2 separate regions of the Homo sapiens genome follow, and region 2 is linked to region 1. Evidence: promoter capture Hi-C in human tissues and cell types (Jung and others, 2019). All regions are on one chromosome and are shown on one strand. The core of a region is centred on a gene start or on the middle of the fragment in contact, and the rest is flanking DNA. Distances in the headings are between cores, read along the strand shown.

Evidence for each region. Contacts are between HindIII fragments. The study calls those that stand out against the background at their distance.
Region 2: a contact is called between the fragment with the promoter of C1QB here and a fragment that was not itself captured in region 1, in 3 of the 25 tissues and cell types used here (IMR-90 fibroblasts, mesendoderm cells and pancreas).

The regions. Positions count from the first base shown.
Region 1 is chr1:22,492,444-22,498,579 of GRCh38, forward strand. The region is part of intron 3 of ZBTB40 (zinc finger and BTB domain containing 40); the gene reads left to right. Among named protein-coding and RNA genes, the nearest start is that of ZBTB40, 44 kb to the left of the region's middle. The HindIII fragment of the contact is 5,344 bases long and covers 1,152-6,136 here.
Region 2 is chr1:22,651,111-22,657,317 of GRCh38, forward strand. It overlaps C1QB (complement C1q B chain), which reads left to right and starts at 2,126. Exons shown (of 3, transcript NM_001378156.1): 1 at 2,126-2,193. The HindIII fragment of the contact is 7,433 bases long and covers 1-3,688 here.

The DNA of each region.
Region 1 (6,136 bases), core at 2,574-5,073:
GAATTCCATTTATTTCCCTTTTCTCCCAGCCCTGCTTCCCCTTTCTGAGAGGCTGCTGGCAGAGTGAGAGGGCGCTGCCCCGGCAGGCTTGCTCCTCTGATTGGTAGGGGGTAGTGTGGGCCGATCCTCCCATGTTGCTATAGGCAATTTTGTATTAGTCCAAGTAATACATGCCTTCTAATAATTAAATGTTTTCCTGATTCATAGCAACTTTTTTAAAAAACAAATTCAAGGTCTAGTATTTATTTTAGCTGTGTTAACTGACAGTCGACTATACATTGTTTTCTTGGGAGACAAGCTATTTACAAGGCTAGGCTAACCCTGATGACTCTCTTTGGGAGGTTTCAAGTCATAAATCCTTGGTACTCTTTGTACTGATTATGCTGAAGGACATTATGGTTTTATATTTTTGCACTTGCGTGTTCTCTTAACTGTTCAATCCATCATTTTTGTCATTAGTTTGTTACCTTGATAGCTTCTAAACACACCTCTTCATTTTCTCTTAAAGCTTCCTCTCCACTTAACTTTGGCTACAGAGGAGTAACGTTATTCCTTAGATCAGCAATACTCAAGTTATTAGTGTCACCTTTATACTTAGTTGAACTGTGTCTTATGCATTTTTTTTAACATTGGTACCTAAAAGTATGTGGCATGTAACAGGTGATGAAGAAATGTCTGTTATACATGCATTCGTTCAACATTTCTTTTTTTCCATTTCTTGTTCTAATCTTTTGATGGCAATATCATTAATATACTTCAAAAGAACACTGATTTGCTGTTGGTGATCATTATAGGCTTATGTTATTTCTTCCTCAGTTTTAGAGGTCAGAGTAGGAGCTCTGCAAATCACTTGGTGGCTGTTTTTAAAGCCAATTCTGTTACAGTCCATAACCTTTGAACTTCAGAAAGAAAAAGGGAACAGATACTTTAAGAATATAAGATTAAATAGAGAGTTAGGGAGATGCTGCTTTGTACTTCGGCCTCTACTTCTCTCTCTCTCTGTCTCTCTCTCATACTTTGTTTCAGACAGCCTTGTTGAGCTATGACTGACATGCAGTAACCTGTAGCTAGGTATGGTGTACAGTGTGATTAGTTTTGGTATATGCCCTGAAACCATCACCACAGTTAAGATGGTAAACATCTCCATCACCCCCAAAAGTTTCTTCTTGTCCCTGTGTACTACCCCTCTCTCCTGCCCCTTCCACTTACCCATGCCCTGGGTAACCACTGGTCTGCTTTCGGTCACTGTACGTAAGTTTGTATTTTCTAGAGTATTGTATAAATGGAGTCATATGGTGTGTATTTTTTGTCTGGCTTTCATTGAGCGTAAGTATCTTGAGATTCACCCATGTTTTTTTTTTTTTTTCCTTTTTTCTTTTTCTGTGAATTCTACAGAGGTACGCCCCTAGTGTTGTGTGTTCATTCCTTCTTATTGCTGAGTTGTATGCATTGTGTGGATATACAATTCATTTATCCACCTCTACTATTTACTAGCATTGTGACTTTAGGCAGCTTCATCTTTATAAGCCTCAGTGTCCTCGTTTGTAAAAAGGGGATACTATCACCTACATCATGGGGTCATTGTGAATTAAGATTATTTATATAAAACTCATAGTAAAATGCCAGGCACTCAGTAGGAGGTCAGTAGGTAACAACTGCTATTGTTTGTTTTTACATTAACTCAGTATTTTTAGACCTAACAGACCTTGAAACCCCCTTTTCACTGAATGTCTTATAATATCCTGGTGCCATGGCCATTTACTCTGACACGAGATGGTTTGCTGTTACTTTAAGCTTAATTTGTAAGGCATGCTTTCAGATAGGTACCACCATCCACTTGGAAGTAGCTTCCTAAACTGCAAGGGCAGTGTCTAGTCTGAAGCAATCACTTTCTAGAACAGTGTCTAGAGGAAGTAGCTTCCTGTACTGCAGGGGTAGTGTCTAGTACGTAGCAATCAGTCTCTAGCAATGTATAGAAAAATCATCTGAGGTGCTTGTTAAAATGTATACCTCCAGAACTCATTTCCATGGTGTCTGATTCTTAGGCTGTGTTAGAACTTGAGAATCTACATATTTAACAGGCTCCCCCATGGGTTGCTGTTTTGGAACCTGTAGACTACATTTTGAGAAGCATAGTTGGAGAAGTGAATGGCTTACAAAACTCTTAGTGTGTGATGGCAGATGTCATAATGTCTGTGCTGGCACCTTTCAGTGGCATGAGAGGCCACCGAATACCCATTTTCCTCATTTGCTTACCCTTTGATTTAGCAGATGTTTACTGAGCAACTGATATGTGCCAGACTGAGCCGCTTGCTAGGCAGAGAAACTTCAATAAGACTTGATCCCTGTCCTTAAAGAGTATCTTGACAGCAGAGAAATCCTGCCACGTGTGTGATTATTTTGGGGGAAGTATGCAGAGGAGTCGCCAAATTACAGATTTCACCATAAGGCTTCAGCAATGAGCGCATTTAAGAGCTGTTCACTTAGAACAACGTTGTTTCACATTTCCGTACAATTTTACAGTTTGGGGTATTTTGTTTTTCTGTTTATACATTTTTAGCTCCCCAAGAGCTTTGAGTGGTATCCTGTGATTGGTTGTTGTTTAGTTAATCTTAACTTGAGAACAGCTTAACGTTAAAAATAGTCTACTCCTGGATGTGTCATTCCGTTTCTGAAACACAGCTGTGAGGTGTGCACCTGGGCAGGATTGAGTTTAGGGAGGACACCATGAACTAGTGTCCTGATTATTTTATTTCCTGAGATCAGTGATGAAAGGTGGCAAAGCCATTCCCTGAACAGCGATTGCAGCAACATGAGAAGAAGCTGGGCTACTTGAATTGTGAGAAATCAAAGCCAAAACTTATTAAAGAGAAATCTCTTGGGTGCTGGGATGGGAACATGTCTTCTGCCTGTCTTTATATCAGTGTAATATCCCTTACGCATTAGAAAAGCAAGTAGTGACCTAAGAGGTCACTTCTGACCTCTGGCTAAGCTGAGTAAAACTGTTATTTAGAGCCAGACTCATACTTTTTTTCAGTTTTTGTGCTAGGTTTTTTTTGTTTTGTTTTGTTTTGTTTTGTTTTTTTGAGACGGAATCTTGCTCTGTTGCCCAGGCTGGAGTGCAGTGGTGCAATCTCAGTTCACTGCAACCTCCACCTCCTGGGTTCAAGCAGTTCTCCTGCCTAAGCCTCCTGAGTAGCTGGGACTACAGGCACGCACACCCATGCCTGGCTAATTTTTGTATTTTTAGTAGAGACGGGGTTTCACCATATTGTTCAGGCTGGTCTCGAACTCCTGACCTCAGGTGATCCATCCACCCGCCTTGGCCTCCCAAAGTGCTGGGATTACAGGCATGAGCCACCGCACCCAGCCTTTTTTACGTTTTAGGAATCATTTAACTCTTCTGGACATTAGCACTAACAAGTTTCAACACTGCCACTTACTTGCTCTGTGGCTTTAGGCAAGTTGTTTTGCCTCTTTGTGCCAGTTTTCATGTGGGTAAAAACAAACAAATAAAGGCAAGGTAGGGGTTGGACAGGACGCTGGCACTGGCATTTTCCAGTTCTCTCATCTGTATTTTCTGACATGTGTCTGCCTCCTGACGTGCAGGCAGCAGAGATGCTATAGATCGAGAACAGCATGGAGCTAACAAGACCTGCATACAATGAGACACAGTGGATGATTTTGTGAGTGGCTGGGATACTTTCTGGAGGTTGAAAATTGTTTTTATTTAGCTGGCATCACGTGTCCATTAACAGCACTCAGCATCCCCAGGGATTGAGCGTGGCTTGCAACTCAGTGACAGACAAGCCCCACTGGGACTGTGAGGCTCAGGGAATTTCACTGGGGATTCAGACACCACCCATGGTCCCTGCAGACCAGGTAGTGCTCAGAAGCATGGAGGCATCAGAGATCCCGTTCTCATCCAGGACACTACGTTGCCTGGGAGGCACCACATTGATATAAAACAACTAAGTTAGGGTAGGCATGGGAATATCAGAGACAGTTGTAGGGGGACGCTGTAAACCCATTCACGTACCGCAAGGAACACCAGACCAGCTGAATTGTGGGGCCCTTTCCAGCGCTGGGCTTCTGGGATTCCTTTGAGCGCCTTCTGTGTGCAATCTACTGGTCCAAACTGGCTTATGCAAAAAGTTAACTTGTTGGCTCCTGTGACTTCATAGTGTAGAAGGAGAGATAGCTCTGGCCATGACTGGCTGCAGGTATGGCAACACCATCATCAGGACCTGGGTTCTTTCTCCCTGTCTCTCAGCAATGCTTCCTCTCTGTGGCTTCCACTTTCAGAAAGGCTTGCCCTCATGGTGACAGAAATGGCAGCAGCTGCTCTAACTTCAGGTGCAATCCAACAGAAAGTGGCCAAAGCCATGGTAGGTGGCACACAGTCACAAGGTAAAGTCCCACGATAGGCCGTCTGTACCTTGAGGAGCAAGGAAGCCAGTGGTGGATCAGTCCAAGTCCCAAAACCTCAAAAGTAGGGAAACCGGCAGTGCAGCCTTCAGTCTTTTGCCAAAGGCCGGAGAGCCCTTGGCAAACCACCGGTGTAAGTCCAAGAATGCAAATGCTGAAGAACTTGGAGCCTGATGTTCGAGGGCAGGAAGCATCCAGCATGGGAGAAAGATGAAGGCTGAAATTGTCTTCCTTCTTTATTCCTAGCCATGTCTCTGCTTTTAATTAATTGTGTATACAGCAAAGTGGATCTTTAACTAGAATAAGGAGATAATTTTTCTACTATTGATTTCTGTGCTTTTTGGTCCACTCTTCACCTAAAAATCTAGAAGACTCCCAAAGCTGAAGACCTAGTAGCATTTTTTTCTCCTTCAACTTTATTTCAAAGGCAAACACATCTCTTCTCCTATGTGAATCTGATGTTTTCAGCCGTGTCGCTGCTTTGGAGGTTTGTCAAATGCAGATCTGTGTTTGGAGGGCTCTGTTCACTGACAGGGTTGGGTAGCCCTCTTGAGAGTGAGTTAATGAGATTCGTTTTACAGGTCTATGAAAGGTGAAAATAAGTTGTTTTTCCAAATCTCCTTTCTGTTAATGATTAAGCCTAAGATATGCAGCCATAGATAGAAGGGCTAATGGTTTTATGGCAAGGGAATTTTATTCAATTAAACATTTATTGAGCACCTACTATGTACCAGTCTTTATATTCATTGAGACCAAGAAAAGTGATACAGATTGTCTACATACTACCCAGTATTCAAACCGGTATTGATTCTGGTAAGTCTAATAGAACCCAGTGTAAATAGATTTGATTATGCTTAAATCTGGGAGGTAGAACTAGGTGAAAGGGGTGCCAGCTACTCCACTTACTAGACCTGTGACCTTAAGCAAGTTACTTAACCTCTTTGAAGTTCATCTAAAGTAGTAGTAGTAACGCCTCCCAGGCCTGGTGTGAGGAAGAAGGTAGATGGCACGGTGTCCAGGATGATGTGGAGCGATTGTAGTCTCTATCATTATTGCCATCACCCAGCCCTCAGCAGTCAAGGGAGGCCTGAGTGAACAAGAATATAGTGTAACTCAAACAGATCTGAAGGCAGTACACGAACAATTGGGGTAAATAAGTCAACTCAGTTAAAAGGCTTGAGTTAAGGGAAAGATTAAATGGTTTTTCACTTATAGAGGGAAAAGAAATGGTCTCATCTTGAAATATATTTACCTATATTTCACTCATAGGTAAAGTATTTAGATTACTTCTGTGACCTTATTAACATGAATTTATTGAAGTACCTTTACCCCTGAGAATTAAGAGTTAGTTCCAAATGTATGGTTAAAGAACTTAGCCCTTTCAACAGAACTCTGTTTTGGTTCAGCTTTTGGAGTTCTGTTACATGATAGTAATTGATGAATCCCTGCCTATCCTAATATCCTAATACCCTTCTGTTTAGGCAGAGAAACTGTTGCAGAAAAGGGCCTGCTTGCTTTTTCCACTGCGGAGCCCTAGGCAGCTTTAGGGGGCTGATGGAGTAACTGCTGTAGTGTTGGCACTGGTGTAGGTCCCCAGTAGGTTCTGAAAGAAAGAGCAGAGAGAGCAGGGCTGTCCATGCAGCTAACTGCCCTCTCCTGGCCCTTTCATCAGCCCACCCCTGCTTCTCTTCCCAGATGGCCACCCTAG
Region 2 (6,207 bases), core at 876-3,375, 160 kb after region 1:
CATATAAGTAATACCGTTCCCATGTTTGCAGTGGGTGCCCACCAAGGGCTGGGCACTCACCTGGCCCTGGACATGGCAGGGGGACCTCGCTGGCCCCCAAAACAGCCCCAGGAGATAGGCGTTCATGCTTCCCATTTCTACACGAGGAAACTGAGGCCAGTAAACATTCCCGTGGCCACATAGTTAGCAAGACGAAGAGCTGGGATTCAAACTGCCAAAGTCCGTGCTCCTAACCCACCTCTGCTGCTTCCTGTTCTTAGCCTCACTGCTTCTACCCCAAATTGACATCCATCTTTTCCCATTGCCCTTAGCCACCTAAGAATTAGAGGCCCAGAGGCTGGGCATGGTGGCTCACGCCTGTAATCCCAGCACTTTGGGAGGCCGAGGCAGGCAGATCAACTTGAGGTCAGGAGTTTGAGACCGGCCTGGCCAACATGGTGAAACCCTGTATCTACTAAAAAAAAATACAAAAATTAGCTGGGCTTGGTGGCATGCACCTGTAGTCCCAGCTACCTGGGAGGCTGAGGCAGGAGAATCGCTTGAACTTGGGAGGAAGAGGTTCTAGTGAGCTGAGGTCGCACCACTGCACTCCAGCCTGAGCAACAGACTGAGACTCCATCTCAAGAAAAAAAAAAAAAAAAAGAACTAGAGGCCCAGAGCCACTCGGCTTTGGGAATGCTCAGAAGCCCTCAACTTGCAACCTACTAACTCGTTTCTCCCTTTGTGGAATCCAGTGTTTCTTCTCTTCACCCTAGCCTGGGTCCCTTCGGGACTATAGTTGACTGAGCTCAGAGACCTTTTGGTTTTATCAAACTTATCTTTCCCTCCTGTTCACCCATTGCAGTTAACACTTAATTTCCACCAAGCTGCATCCACAAGCCCAGTGAATTTCCATCTCCAAGCACAGATGTCAAGAGGGCCTCCAGCTCCTGGTGCTTGCTAGTCATCATGTCGTCTGAGACGCAGCCACAGGGAGAGACTGATATCCTAGTGCCAGGGATGCCGGCTTCCAGGTCTGCATCTGCCACCTCCATGAGGCATCGGCCCCAGCAGTCACGTCTTTCTGTGACATTTATCACAGAAGCAATGAAGCCTCATGTCATTCCGTGTTTAACACCAGTCTCCCCCCGTAGAAGGGAGGCCCCATGGGGGCAGGGACCATGGCTGATTTGCTAAGAGCTCTCTCTTCAGTGCACATGGAAGCAAACACTAAATATTTGTTAAATGGTGGGTCTCCCCTCTGGGCCTCAGTTTCCTCGTATATAAAATGAGGAGGATGGGCCGAGTAACCTCAGCCCCTCTCCGGCCCTAACTTGGCGTGATTCCAGGATCGAGAAGAAGCAACAGGCCCCTGCCTGGGCCTATTATTGTCATCAGCGTCCAGCCCTGCTGGAAGCAGAGGGAGGGGTATCAATAAATAATGAACACATTTAAAATTCATTATGAGATTATTTTCTGAGAACAGGGAAAGAGCAGGGGCACAGAATGGGAAGGAAGCAGAAGAGATGAGCCCAGAAAGGGGAAGCCTGGGACATGAAGTGATATTAACAATGAACACGTGCACAGCCCTTTACAGTTTACCCCCAGACACTTCCTCCCCCATCATTTCCTCCATTATCCTCCCAGTGGCCTGTGAGATCTGTATCTGTAGAGCAGGTACAATTATGGTCCCATCCTATAGCAGAGAAAATTGGGGCTCCCTTGACTGACAACACATCAACTGGCAAGTGGCAGAGGCGGGATTGGAATCAAAGGCTCTGACTGTAAGCCAGCACTCAGGCAGCGGGCCCGCCACATGATGCTCACTGAGGAACACCCCTGCCCAGTGTAGAAGAAGATCACGAGGTCAGAGAGCCTGGGAGGGTGAGCTGTGGATGTTCCCCCAGGACAGCGTGTTCTCCCCACAGCTGCTGAGTTGGCAGAACCAAACTTGCCACCCACCCGTCTCATTTACAGTAAATCCAGTGGGTTGCAGAAATAGGACCTGAAACTGCCTGAGGGCAGCAGGGTGGGGGGACAGTGAGGGGACGGGAAAGGGGCCAGCCTGCTGGTCCATGGGAGGGGACCGTCAGGGGAAAGCCCTTCCCGCCTCTGGGGAAGGGAACTTCCGCTTCGGACCGAGGGCAGTAGGCTCTCGGCTCCTGGTCCCACTGCTGCTCAGCCCAGTGGCCTCACAGGACACCAGCTTCCCAGGTGAGGACGGGGCTTGGCGCCTGGGGGAGGCTGGCAGGGCCAATATGGCAGAAAGTGGTGATTCCGTAAGTGTGAGCTTTGCGTCACCTGCCTCGGAGCCAGTTAGGCTGTTTAACAGTGCAGGTAGCTGGGCCCAATCCCAGACCTATGGGACCCAGATCTCTGGGGTGAGTTGGGGAGTCTGCTGCTACCCAGGGCCTAGCGGATGGGCAGGCCACCTAAAGCGGGAGCCTGGCACATAGGAGCTTTGGCATCGCAGAGACTTGAGCTGAGTCTGGCTCTGCACCTTATGTATTGGTTATCTTGGGCAAGTCACCTAACCTCTCTCAGCCCGGCCCCCCTACAGAGAACAGAATCTTTCAGCACTGCTGTGCCTTACAGGAGATCAAGCTTGCAAAAGCTTAGTGCATGCCCTGGCTCAAAATTTATCAGTAAACCAGAGGCAGGAGTGGGATTATAAGCCAGTCGCTCCTGCCCGGCCCAGCATTTCCCCAACACCTTGCTTATTTCCTCATACTCGCTGAGAAAGCTCAGCTTGACTCTTCCAAAGAAATAAGGGGATGTGCAGGTAGAGTTACGATGAGTTCTCAGCTAGTACTGAGTGAGCGCAATGTTTGTGCAGCTGGGGAGTGGGATGTGGCACTGCACGGGGCAGGGGGGACCTTATTTCTTCTAAGCGCCTTCTCCTGTCATCCTTCTGGCAGCCCTGTCAGGTTGAAATCAGCATTGCCAAGAGGCTCAGAGAGGTTAAGGCACTTGCCTGAGGTTATGCAGCCGGTAGCAGATGGGGCTTTAAAGTCAAGTGGGCCTGACTCCATGTTGCGGAAAGGGACTGCTGGACCGAAGGAGATGGAAAGGTCAGAGCCTGGGGGGAGGACAGGAGAAACCGCGCTGGCAATGATGATGGGCTGGCACAGGCAGGAGGCAGTTAAACCAGATGAGTTGTAAGCCCTAACCCAAGGCTGAAACTCGGTGGCTTTTGAAATGGGCTAGAACCAGCACTTTCCCACTCCCCCTGCCCCTGGCTTCCCCAGGAAGCCCAAGTCCTGTCAGTACCCTGCTCCCCACCCTCTCTCCCCACCAACTGGTCACAGCTCTCCACCCCTTGCTGCCTCCAACTGACAGAGCCCCTCCCTCTAAACACAGTCTTTCAAAGGGATTGTCTTTTTTTACTTCTCCAACCATCTTCCCTTCTGTTCAACCACTCAGGAATTCTTGGATGACAGTGATAATAATAAAATAGCTAATATTCATTAAGAATTTCCAACATGCCAGGCTCTGTTGGAAGCTGTAACTCATGTCCTCGCACATACCCTATGAGGGAGAGAGTAGCATTATCCCCACTTTATAGGAGGGTAAACTGTGGCCAGAGAGAAGGAGTGATTTCCCAAGTCCCTTAGCTAAGAAGCAGTAGAGACCTTATGTGAACGCTGAGTGTTGCTTTCCTTGTGACACTACAGGCTCCCGCCACCAGGTGAATGTGTGCTGCCTAACAAGAGCAGCAATCATCGTGGTGGTAAAAAGCCACTTTCACCGAACACTGACCATGTGCCTACCACTACCCTTGGTGTGTCCCATGCATTAGTCCTTTTATCAGGCTGTCTGGCTTCAAAGTTTATGTTTTTACCACCAGGTACAGTGGCCTCTTAACATAACATTGAGTTTTAAGATCCAGTGGATGTGGGTTTGACTCCCAGCCACACAGGAGCTGTGTGACTTTTATCAAGGTGCTTGCCCTCTCTGATCCCGTTGCCTCATCTGTAAAATAAGAAAGCAAGAGTGCATTCTCAGGGGCTGAATATCAAATTACAGGGGATAATGGCATGCAAGCCATCTGGCTCAGAGCCTGGCCTATACGTACCCAACTTATTAAAGTTGTTAAATTGCCATTTTGTAAAACCTTTAGCAAGAGCAAGAGTGAGAGCTGATGCTTATTCATGGATAAGCAGGACCATGCCCCTGAGCCACCCTGTCTTCAGAGCATAGAGCCTGACAGAACCTAAAGCTGTCACCAGCATTCCCTGGCCACACTCATCTTTACAGCTTCCTTTCCTTGGTGCACAGTGTCTGGCATAACTCAGGGCTTTCAGCAAGAAATTGATCAGGACTAGGCTGAGGGGCTGAGGCTGGTTTGCAGAGCATAGGAGCCAAATATCAGTAGGCCTTGTCTGGTCCCAGGGAGCCCTCCACATGCCAGACTCTGGGGTTGGGACAGCCAGCATGTGGCAGAGAGGGTAGGAGTTTGGCCACAACCCTGCTGTTAGAATAGTTTGCTGGGTGATTTTTGGGTAGGTTGCTTTCTAAGTTCCGATCCTCAGTTTCCTCATCTGCAAGATGGGAAATTAATCACAACCCACTTCCCCAGGGTGTTGAGAGGATCAGAGAACAGCAGCAATAGCAGTAGCAGCCACAAGTCCCAATGAGAGCTTGGGGCTCAAGGCTTTATGACTCTTTCCCATCCATGGTCTCACCTGGGTCCCTGTGGCCACTCTGGGAAGTAGGCAGAGACCACTCTGCTCCCCCATTTTAAGAGAGGATACAGTTCAGCCTCTGAGGAAAGGTTTCCTGGAGGAAGAAGGCTTTGACCCAAGCTTCGAATGAAGAAAAAACATTTGGATCTGGGCAAAGGTGGAATGGGCTGCCTCGAGAGGTAATGAGCTGCCCATCACTGAAACGGTGCAAACTATGGATGGAAGAGCCCTTGGCAGAGATGTCATTTCCTCACACTCTGCTGAGAAAGTTCAGCTTGACTCTTCCAAGGAAATAATGTGATGTGCAGCTAGCGTTGTGATTAGTTCTTAGGGCTGAGTGAACACAACGTTTGTGCAGCAGGGGAGTGCGTTGAGGCACCACACGGGGGACCTTGGCAGAGGTGTCATTGAGGAAACTTAAGAATAGGCTGAAGGGTCCTCAGGAACTTAAACATGGAATTGCCATAAGCGGTAATTCCTCTCCTGGGTATAAACCCCAAAGAATTAAAAACAGATACTCAAATCCTTGTTCACAAATGTTCATAGCAGCACTCTTCACAATAGCCAAAAGGTGGAAACTTCCCAAATGTCCACCAATGATGAGTGGATAAACAAATAGCCAAGCGAGATGGTGCGTGCCTGTAATCCCAGCTACTCAGGAGGCTGAGGCAGGAGGATGGCTTGAGCTCCAGAGTTCGAGACCAGCCTGGGCAACAGAGTGAGACCCCATCTCAAAAAAAACCAAAAACCCCAAAACCAAATTGTAGTGTGTAAGTGGAAGGTCTGTAAGTGGAAAGACACAAACGGTATTTTCCTCTGCTCTCACACCACAACAATCAACACAGAAGACTTCTGTGACCAAATGTGGGGGGTTTCTCCCCACACACCAAGCAAGCAATCAAATCTGCTGGGTGTCTTTCCACTCAGTTCTGACACTGTCTAGGAATAGCATCAGACCCCACAGGCTGAGAGCTCAGTCCCACAAGACTGCTCCCCCTCAGACACCATTTGCAAGTCCAGGCCCCCAGAACTTCTGACCAATCAGCTTCAAGTTGGGGTTCTCACAACCCCCTGCTTGGGTTTGGATTCTTTGCTAGAGTGGCCCACAGAAGTCGGGGAAACACGTTTACAAGTTTATTATAAACAATACTATAAAGGATACAGATGAGATGCTCAGGGTGAGGTATGAGGGAAGAGGCGTGCCACTGTCATGCCCAGGTCCCTGGGCATGCTGCCCCCGAGGAACCTCCTCGTGTTCAGCTATTTGGAAGCTCTCTAAACCTAGTTCTTTGGGATTTTTATGGAGGCTTTATTATGTAGGCACGATTGATTAAGCCATTGACCATTGGTAATCAATTTAACCTTCAGCCCCACTCCCCTCCCCAGAGGTTGGGGGGTGGGGCTGAGAGTAGACCCTCTAAGCCTGCCTTGGTCTTCCTGGTGACGAGCCCCATCCTGAAGCTACCTAGGGGCTGGCAGCCATCAATCAATCATTAGCATACAAAAATACCTCACTTTGGAAATTCTAAGGATTTTAGGAGTT